3 separate regions of the Homo sapiens genome follow, and regions 1 and 3 are each linked to region 2. Evidence: promoter capture Hi-C in human tissues and cell types (Jung and others, 2019). All regions are on one chromosome and are shown on one strand. The core of a region is centred on a gene start or on the middle of the fragment in contact, and the rest is flanking DNA. Distances in the headings are between cores, read along the strand shown. Region 1 overlaps SLC25A21 (solute carrier family 25 member 21). Region 2 holds the start of NKX2-8 (NK2 homeobox 8). Region 3 overlaps SLC25A21 (solute carrier family 25 member 21).

Region 1 (2,700 bases), core at 198-2,697, 530 kb after region 2:
GAACAGAATGAAAAGAATACACTGTTTTGTTATTTAAAATACAGTTTAAAAGGCTAGTACTGATAAGTAATTTATCAGACAGAAAAGCTATAGATTCACTTTACAAAGGAAGAAGTACATTGAGACCTTGCTGCTACAGTAATGAGTTGAAATTCAGGAAAATCACCTACATACTGGGAATTAAAAGATGTGAGTTTTGTTAAGTGTGTGTGTGTGTGTGTGTGTGTGTGTGTGTGTGCGTGTGTGTGTTGTGTGCCTCAATCCCTTTGTGTTTTGGCTTTTCAGTCTGGAAATTCACAAAAATAGGACAAGTCATAATATCTAAAATGGATAAATATATTATATTCTTTTTATCTTCTTGTACCTTTCCTCAGTTTTCAATTTTCTGTTCCCTGATTTCCATCCACCTACTCCCCACACTCTAATTTTTGAAATATTGCAGTTCCATTACAACCTGTTACTTTCCTACTCCTCTTTAATTTATCAGCTCACTAAGTGTACTCATCTCTTTATTGAAAATAAGGCAAGAAAACTAAATATATTTGTTGTGTTTATTTTTTCTTTAAAATTTTGTCCTACTTTGCAACAGCAGAATTTTGTTACAATTCTCTTAACTGTAAAGTCAGAAGTTTCAATTAGTTGATCCCCATGAAATGCACAGCTTTGTAGATCATGCAGTACTACATCATGTGAATGGAAGAGCTTAATAAATGCATCAGACTGAAACAAGGATGGAGATTACGATGGTGTGCGTGATTCTACCTTGCTTTGGAAAGTTGCGTGAAGGGATCATCATAACAACTAACCCTGCTTCATTTAAGCAATGAATCTCGGGCCAAATAGAGAAAAAGAAAGAATCAAGGAAGGAAAGGAAGAAAAGAAAAAAGGAGGGAAGGAAGGAAAGGAAAGGAAAGAAAACCTTTTTGGTATATAAAAACATAAAAATGCCAGATTTGTAGCATTTATGTAATTTCTTTTTTCAGTGAAATTTGTTTTGTTAGTCATGAGAATCTGAAATACAAAGCCAAGTTATATAAATACAAATTTGGCTTTCTAAAAAATCTTTTTTATCTTTACCTGTCACAGAGAGTGGTTGCGAAAGTATTAATGAATGATGTTGTGCAGTCAGGAGACCTATGTGCTAGCTTTAGCTCTACTTCTAATTAACTGCCCATGCACAATCTAGTCGCCTAATTTTTATAGGCCTGGACTTTGTCATGATTCCTAAGGCGTCTCGGAATAAGAAATAATGAGAAGATTATATCTTTGGTCCTTTAAAACTTTTTTTTTACATTGCAAAACTGCCATACATTGACCAATTCTTTTCTATAGATAACCTGAGGTCTTTATAAAGTAAGATTTAAAAAGGGGAAATATTTAATGAGTAATATTTTCCAGTTATGTTTCCCACAAAGATGAGAAAATTATTAACATTGCATGTCACAACTAAATTGCAGCTTAAATGTACATAATGAATGTAAACTATTACAATGTTATTAAAATAGTTTATGGTTACTCTTTATAACATCATAGTATTCCAAGAACCAGAGCTTCTGACTTTAAGTTGACCTGTGCTTTCCATAAAGAACAGTTTCATACTTGTGAAAAAAATGTATAATTGCTGTAAAACAATAGTTTGTGAACACTACTTCAGACTTTCTAATCATGCTCGAGGGAACACAAGAGCTCATTTCCTCTGAACTTCTACTACTTATGTTTTATGTTAAGAGGTTGCATTGGTTTGCAGAGGCATTAGTTAGCCAGAAAACTAGTCCCTTGAGCACTTGCTTCATTATTAAATGTAAAATAAGCCACTAAATAGCAGGATGAAGGCAACTTTCACATTTACCAAAATCACCTAATAGGCTTATGGAGAACAGGTGAGTATCATTCCATTCTAGAGTACTAAGTACATCCACTTGAAATATAGAAAACACAGCCTCTTCCAAGCATGAAGGAATCTTTGTATTCTTTGATTTCTCAGAAGCAAAAATTTAGCAAGTACAGACACAAGTTATAATAAAGATACAATGAAGGCACTGCCTGCTTGGATTGAAGAGCACAGGAGAGAGAGCAATTAGGTCATTTCTAACTCATTTTTCTCCAGGTCACCCAGTCCTTGCAGTAAGCCAGGGTCAACTCCACCTAGACAACCTCCCCAGCACTATAACTTGGTTTCATAAGGGACCACCATATTGCGCTCACTATTTTCAGTTAAATTCATGGCAATGAAACTCTTTCACTCCCAGACAACTGTTTATCAATGACTGATAACATAATATTCACGACAGAGGAATAGCCTGCTTGAACCAGCACTTTTCTTACCTGTTACTTGGTTTTGAAGAGACTATAAACTATTGGAAGAACTTGTCTGGTTTCCTATTTTATGCCAAACCTTATTCTATCGCTCTAAAAAAGAGGAGGAAAAAAATACTCATTTTTTGAACAGCAACAAAAAAAAAATCACAGATATCATAATGCTATTGAGCAAGTTAATGCAAAATACAGTGGAATAATACCTAGCCCAGGAATGAGAAGACATGAATTCTGCTTTTGAAACCTTTGAAAAATTATGCCTTCTCTCAATGCCTCAATGTTTTCTTATAAAGTAAGAAAGGTTTCTAAATTAAAGGTTTGAAGGTTTCTAAACTTTTGTTAGAATGAGAATCCTTTTTTTAACCAAATTTACCAATGAATTCA
Region 2 (2,862 bases), core at 52-2,551:
GAAGCGCCGCTCCAACTCCAGCGTCTGCGCCTTGGAGAATAGCACCCGCCGCTTCTTCCTTTTCTCGGCGTCCGAGCCCGGAGACGCGGGCCTAGCGGACGGCCGCTGCGACGAGTCTGGCGGGCTGGTCTCCAGGCTGCTCTCGTCCGAGGCTAGGGACAGCAAAGGAGACACGGGTGGGTGAGACGCCGGACCCTACGAGGGCCTGCTGCCCTTCTGGCGCGGGCGTGGAGGCACTGGCCAGAGGGCACGCCCACTAGCCCGAGACTTTCGGGATGAGGCCATTTCCTGAGTCCACATCTGGACATCCACCTCTCCGAATGCGGTGACCTCATTCATACCACAGCGGTCATCAGCGGGCCTGAGATCGTGCCCCGAAAAAACCCACCCCGGGGCCCTCTTAACATGTCCGCACCGGTAGTTGCGCTGGCCGACCAGTTTATCACAAGCTGGGTCACCAGCGCCGGCCTCCTCCAGGTCGACTGCACTGCAGTGTGCCGAGGTTTGCGGAGCCCTGAGTGGGAACGGGGTGGGGGTAAACTCGCCAACACTGGCCATCCCAGACGGAGGCCTGGAGATCGTGGCCGTGTTTTCAGGCATGGAGAGGGGGCGGGGGGTGGGGTGGGGGCGGCAGGTGGCGGCGCGTTTTAAATTTCAATTATTCCGACCTCTAGAAATCGTCAGACACAGAAACCCCAAATCTCGGAGCACCAGTGCCAGGCAGGGATCTGCTCTTAGGATGTGCCGACCGGGATGAATGCGTTAGGGGTTCGAGGACAGGGCTCCCGTTTCCAAGACTGAGGAAATCTAGACTCTGGGCTGGGATTTCGGCTTTCCGGCCCCTCGTGGGCTGGGCCCTTGATTCTGCTGCCCCACGCCTCCTACCTCCCACCCCGCACCGCAATCCACCACGCACTTACAAGGGTAGTGGCCGCGCTCCGAATCCAGCCAGGCGGCGCAGGGGTCGGGCTGGGGGGCGCGTGGTTCTGGCTCCCGCCTCGGCAGGTGTTGCGCGTCCTGCTCGGGTAAATCTAGAAGGCTGCGCACGGTGAAGCTCAGGCGTCCAGAGGTGGCCATGGCCGAGGAGGGGAAGGAGGCGGGGGCAGGGCAGGCTGGGAACGGAGGGGCGGCCGGGACGCCGCTCCTACGGATGGGCGTGGGAGGCGCTCGCCATGCGCTGGCAGCCGGGATATTAGCGCATTTACAGCGGAATCTCTGTTTATATAAACAGCTCTTCCCACCCAGGCCGCTTTGAAAGCCGAGGTCCGGGTCTCCAGGGTGTTAAGTACCTGAATGAGCACTGGACCAGAGCCGGGGCGAGCCCGGAAGGTGCCACCTCCGCCCCCGCCCCGCCCCGCACCCCGCCCCGCACCCCGCCCCTTGGCGCCCAGTTACCTCCCAGAGGCTGCAGGAAGCAGCATTTGGCATTAGCGATTCTGTCTGATTAGCCCAAAGTGGGGACAGATAATGGGGATTGTTACCAGTGAATAACATCTTGGGTGGCGAGCGGTGGCCACCACCCGCCTGACCCAGCCCCAGCTTCCTCCTCCTCCTCCTGGGCTGACTTGAGGCCAGGCCCCGCGGGAGCGCCGGGAAGGGTGGGGGTGGCAGGGGTGGGTTTATTAGCACCCAGGAATTTATTCCCTGTTTGCTTTATTCTTCGAGCTTGTTTGCTGGAGTGGTAGTTTCCCGCAATTATCCAGAAAGTGATTTACAAAGCGGCGTTAAACTCTGGCGCGCTCCCTTTCTCTTTTTGGTTGGGCCCCTCTAAGATTCAGGATGACAAGTTTCAGGAGGGCGTAAAGATTAGCCTGGCCCTGCCAGCATTGGCCCAGGGGTTTCAACGGCCGCTGGGAGCCTCGGATCACACCATACATCCCCCTAACAGCCTCAGAGGTGCTGAGGAAGGGCTGGGACAACATTCGGAGCCCCAGCTCCACGTCTCCACAGGCCGGCAAAACAGAAGAGGCTTGTAGCCAAGCTACTTAGGTCTACAGTGCCTGTCTCTTTGGCCCAGCTTCGCCCGGCCGCTGCCGATCTCGGAGCTCGGAGGCCGAGCTCCACAAATTTGGGTCCAGGCCCGCTTTAGAGCCCCTGGGCGGGGGCGCTTCTCAGGGCATCCTGTGAGGGCTTTGAGGCCTCCTTGGAGTCGCCAGATGAACTGGTGCCGCCTGTGCGCCTTGGCCCCATAGCCTCAACGGCACTCTCACTGCCTGGGCTTTGGTCTTTGCCCAGGAGCCTGCCCATGGCCTACGCTCCCCGCTCGCAGCATGGCAGACCCTGACGAGGCTGCCCGCCTTGGTCCGGGAATGGACCGATCGGGAGAATTAGGACAGGGCCTACCCGGCAGAAAATACCACCGGCCATGGGTTTCTCTGGGATCTTCTAGTTTCCACAGTTCCACCCTAGAAAATGATCAATGTAGGAGGCGCAGGGAACAGGCCGCCGTGGATACATTTTGTTGGGCCATGGCCTAGCTCTGGCCGCGCTTCAATCTACAGAGGAACGCCCTCTCAGAGGCCTCTCCTACTGAAGCTAGTAGTTTGGATATTTAGTTGCTAAATTGTAGCGAAGGGCTCTGTACTTGGGTGGCTGCACCAGAAGTCCTGGCTCCTCCCGGGCTGAACTCGAACCTGGCTCGGATGCGGCGGCGGCGGCCCTGTCAAGCCCCGCGCACCCTCCCCAGCAGCCTCCCTATCAAGCGTGCCCGAGGTGCCCGGAGCTGCACCGCGCGCTGGGTGGTCGGGCGGAGGCAACCCCAATACAGGCCAACTGCTAGGCCGCGGACAAAGGGGAAATGGAGCTCGACGCCCCGGACCTGTTGGAAGCATTTGTTCCAGTCAAGATTTTGCATTTGTTCAG
Region 3 (2,985 bases), core at 211-2,710, 560 kb after region 2:
CTTATTAACTGTTTAAAATTTGAGAGAAAATGTGAAGATTTTCATTGTAGACCATGTTTTCTTCAATTAAAATCTCCATAGCAAAGTGATTTTTAGTATATAGCATTCTTGCTGCTGATAGAAATGACAGTCTGTTAATATTTATATAGCTCTGCCTTAAATTCATTTGTTCATATACATTAATTTATTGTCTTTGGACAATATCTCTTATCTTTTATCTATTTCACTCCACTCAATTTCCTATGCATTTCTAATACCTCCAACTGCTAATTTTCCTTCATTGAAATGTTAAATATTATTTATGAGCTCCTTAAAAATCTTCTATATATACTAACATGTTATAATTACATTGATTTTCATAAAGAAAAAATTAGTTCTGAAAAAGAAAAAGCTATTTTAAATGTTTATATTCTATCCTAAAAAATAGTCTTCAACTGAATTTTTTGGTAAACTGTGTTGCAGTTTTTTACTAATGTTCTTTGGTTCAGTATAAATGATATGGTAAATTTGCATTCAAATTCATGGAACTTTTGAAATCTGTTTCCCATCTAGCTGGCCAGCCAAAAACAATATTTTCATTTGTAAACAGCTGTTTCATAATCAGCTCTTTTGTACTACGTGGAATTCCATAAAAGATAGAACATTTTATTTAAAATACAGGAATCGCATTAATCCATCACAAATCATTGATTAGTTTTTGTATACTACCACACATTTAACTTATAGGGAAAGATTTTAAGGAAAATTTAATCTTGTGTCCAAATGTAACATTACTTTAAACATGAGGTCATCTAAACATCTGTCTCCAATATATCACTGGGGATTTAAATCAAAAGTCTGCTAAACATGTACAATCATTTTGAAAATAAATAACAGGACAAATTCTGTCTTGATTATGATTATCATGCATTTTAAAAGGGAACATTTATTCTAATAAGAAAAGTCTGAACTAATTTAAACTTTATTGACATTAAGTTAAAATAGTTTCATACAAGAGTAAGAGATATATTTCGTTTATTTGCTGCATAACAATGCTTATATTTCAACTTTTCAACATTATACTCTTAAATTTTTACTCACAAAAAAAACTGATACCTTTATCCCTCCATATATTTTCAATAGTAAAATATTCAAGGAAAAATTTCAAGACATAAAATTTTCCACTCAGTAACTGAAAAATGAATAACACAATTTTCTTCCTGAACTTTCCTTCCTTTAGGGCAACACTATGAATCTTCAAGAAGAACTAAAATAGTTCTATCCATTTAACTGACTCCTATGTTACGCTTTAAAATAAAAGAATGTAGCTAATTACAAAAGACAGTGAAGGCAGTACATTCCCTTCAAGACTTTATAATCATCAAAAAGTCAGTGTATTTCTTAAATGATTAATTAAACTCTACACCTGACTTGTGTCTGGTAAGTATGAGCATTTAATTCACCAACAGGATATCTTCAGAAACCAGCTAAATACTTGAGATGAATACGCATTAAAAATAAACCACAATGCTTAATCATCAAAGCAATTTCTGCCGAAACTAAAATGAACATTAGCAGTTGAAGAACCGGAGGAAATAAAATTAAAGCATCACTGAATAGTACATTCTTAGAAAAACACCATAGCTTCCCCTAATGCTGCAGAAATCATCAAAGAACCCAGCTGCAAGGAATATTAATGTCCAGGTTTGTCTCACATCTAGTTGGCTGTTGCAAACTGTAACTGTAGGTGGTAGTTATGGTTTTCTGAACCACCTCACTGCATTTCTTCTTTCTGCTTATATCCCGAAGTTGCTAACTTTGGCCATGGCAATTTCAGATCATATATTCTGCCTTGGTAGATACAGGATAAAAACTTTAAAATGTATTCACAGGTCTCTGAGTGTAATTCCTTAAGGGCAAGAACTATGACTTACTAATTTTGGATATCCATTCCCTAGAACCACATCTGACACATATCTGCAGCTTGATAATTCTTGGTAAATGCATGAATGACTTGATGAAATGAACATCTGACTAAAACCAAAAACTTTTGCCTGGCTCTGCTGAACTGCCTACTAATACACTGCTTTAGTTTTCCCACCTATAAAATGAGGCTTATCCTTGCCCTGCACCCTCACTGAGGTATTGGGAGAATTGAACGAGAGCATAAACACAAAAATTTATTGTAAAACTAGCAGTAGCAAACTAGTGTAATCATTTTGATCATCAACAATGTATCTAGGTTAAATTGTATATGCAGAAAAACAGATACTGAATGTTATATGAAGTATTTATTTATAAAAACATTCTTTTGAAGAAGCTCAAAATTGAAATAACATGCTTCCAAAATATGTGGTATGTTGAAACAGAGAAATTCTCTTTTGAAAATACAGTTAAAGGACTGGGGGCTAAGAAATCCCTTTGGAAAAGTTAAGTCTGGTGGTACCATTTTTTTTTTTAACTTTATAAGATCTTAGAGCTGGGCACGGTAAGGCTCACGCCTGTAATCCCAGCACTTTGGGAGGCTGAGGCGGGTAGATCACTTGAGGTCAGGAGTTCGAGACCAACCTTGCCACATGGCGAAATTCCGTCTCTACAAATAACACAAAAATTAGCCAGGCGTGGTGGTGCAGGCTTGTAATCCCAGTTACTTGGGAGACTGAGTCAGGAGAATCACTGAACCAGGGAAGCGGAGGTTGCAGTGAGCTAAGATCACGCCACCGCACTCCAGCCTGGGTGACAGAGAGAGACACTGTCTCAAAAAAAGAAAAAAAAATCTTAGGAACTTAATAATTAACACCTTTTGTATTACGAGGAAGAAATTCAAGCTTTTTTATATAATTAATACAACTGAGCAACTGAGTTTATCTCAAACTTTAGCCTTCCCAGTCCAAAAGCTGAATACCATAATGACTAGCTAAAGATGCTAATTCAGCATTAGCAATGTAAAGCATGTTTTTGTGTGTTGCCAGTGTTTTCCTCAACACATAAAACACACAAAAAATC

Evidence for each region. The method cuts DNA at HindIII sites, captures the fragments that hold promoters and counts their contacts. A contact is called where the count stands out against the background at its distance.
Region 1: a fragment that was not itself captured here is called in contact with the fragment with the promoter of NKX2-8 in region 2 in 4 of the 25 tissues and cell types used here (dorsolateral prefrontal cortex, mesenchymal stem cells, small bowel and 1 more).
Region 3: a fragment that was not itself captured here is called in contact with the fragment with the promoter of NKX2-8 in region 2 in 2 of the 25 tissues and cell types used here (mesenchymal stem cells and mesendoderm cells).

What each region holds. Positions count from the first base shown.
Region 1 is chr14:37,108,502-37,111,201 of GRCh38, forward strand. The region is part of intron 1 of SLC25A21 (solute carrier family 25 member 21); the gene reads right to left. Among named protein-coding and RNA genes, the nearest start is that of SLC25A21-AS1, 62 kb to the right of the region's middle. The HindIII fragment of the contact is 3,481 bases long and covers 1-2,700 here.
Region 2 is chr14:36,581,313-36,584,174 of GRCh38, forward strand. NKX2-8 (NK2 homeobox 8) reads right to left here and starts at 1,302. Exons shown (of 2, transcript NM_014360.4): 1 at 921-1,302; 2 at 1-152. The coding sequence starts at 1,077. RefSeq lists an enhancer at 1-693. The HindIII fragment of the contact is 13,278 bases long and covers 1-2,862 here.
Region 3 is chr14:37,138,407-37,141,391 of GRCh38, forward strand. The region is part of intron 1 of SLC25A21 (solute carrier family 25 member 21); the gene reads right to left. Among named protein-coding and RNA genes, the nearest start is that of SLC25A21-AS1, 32 kb to the right of the region's middle. The HindIII fragment of the contact is 4,758 bases long and covers 1-2,985 here.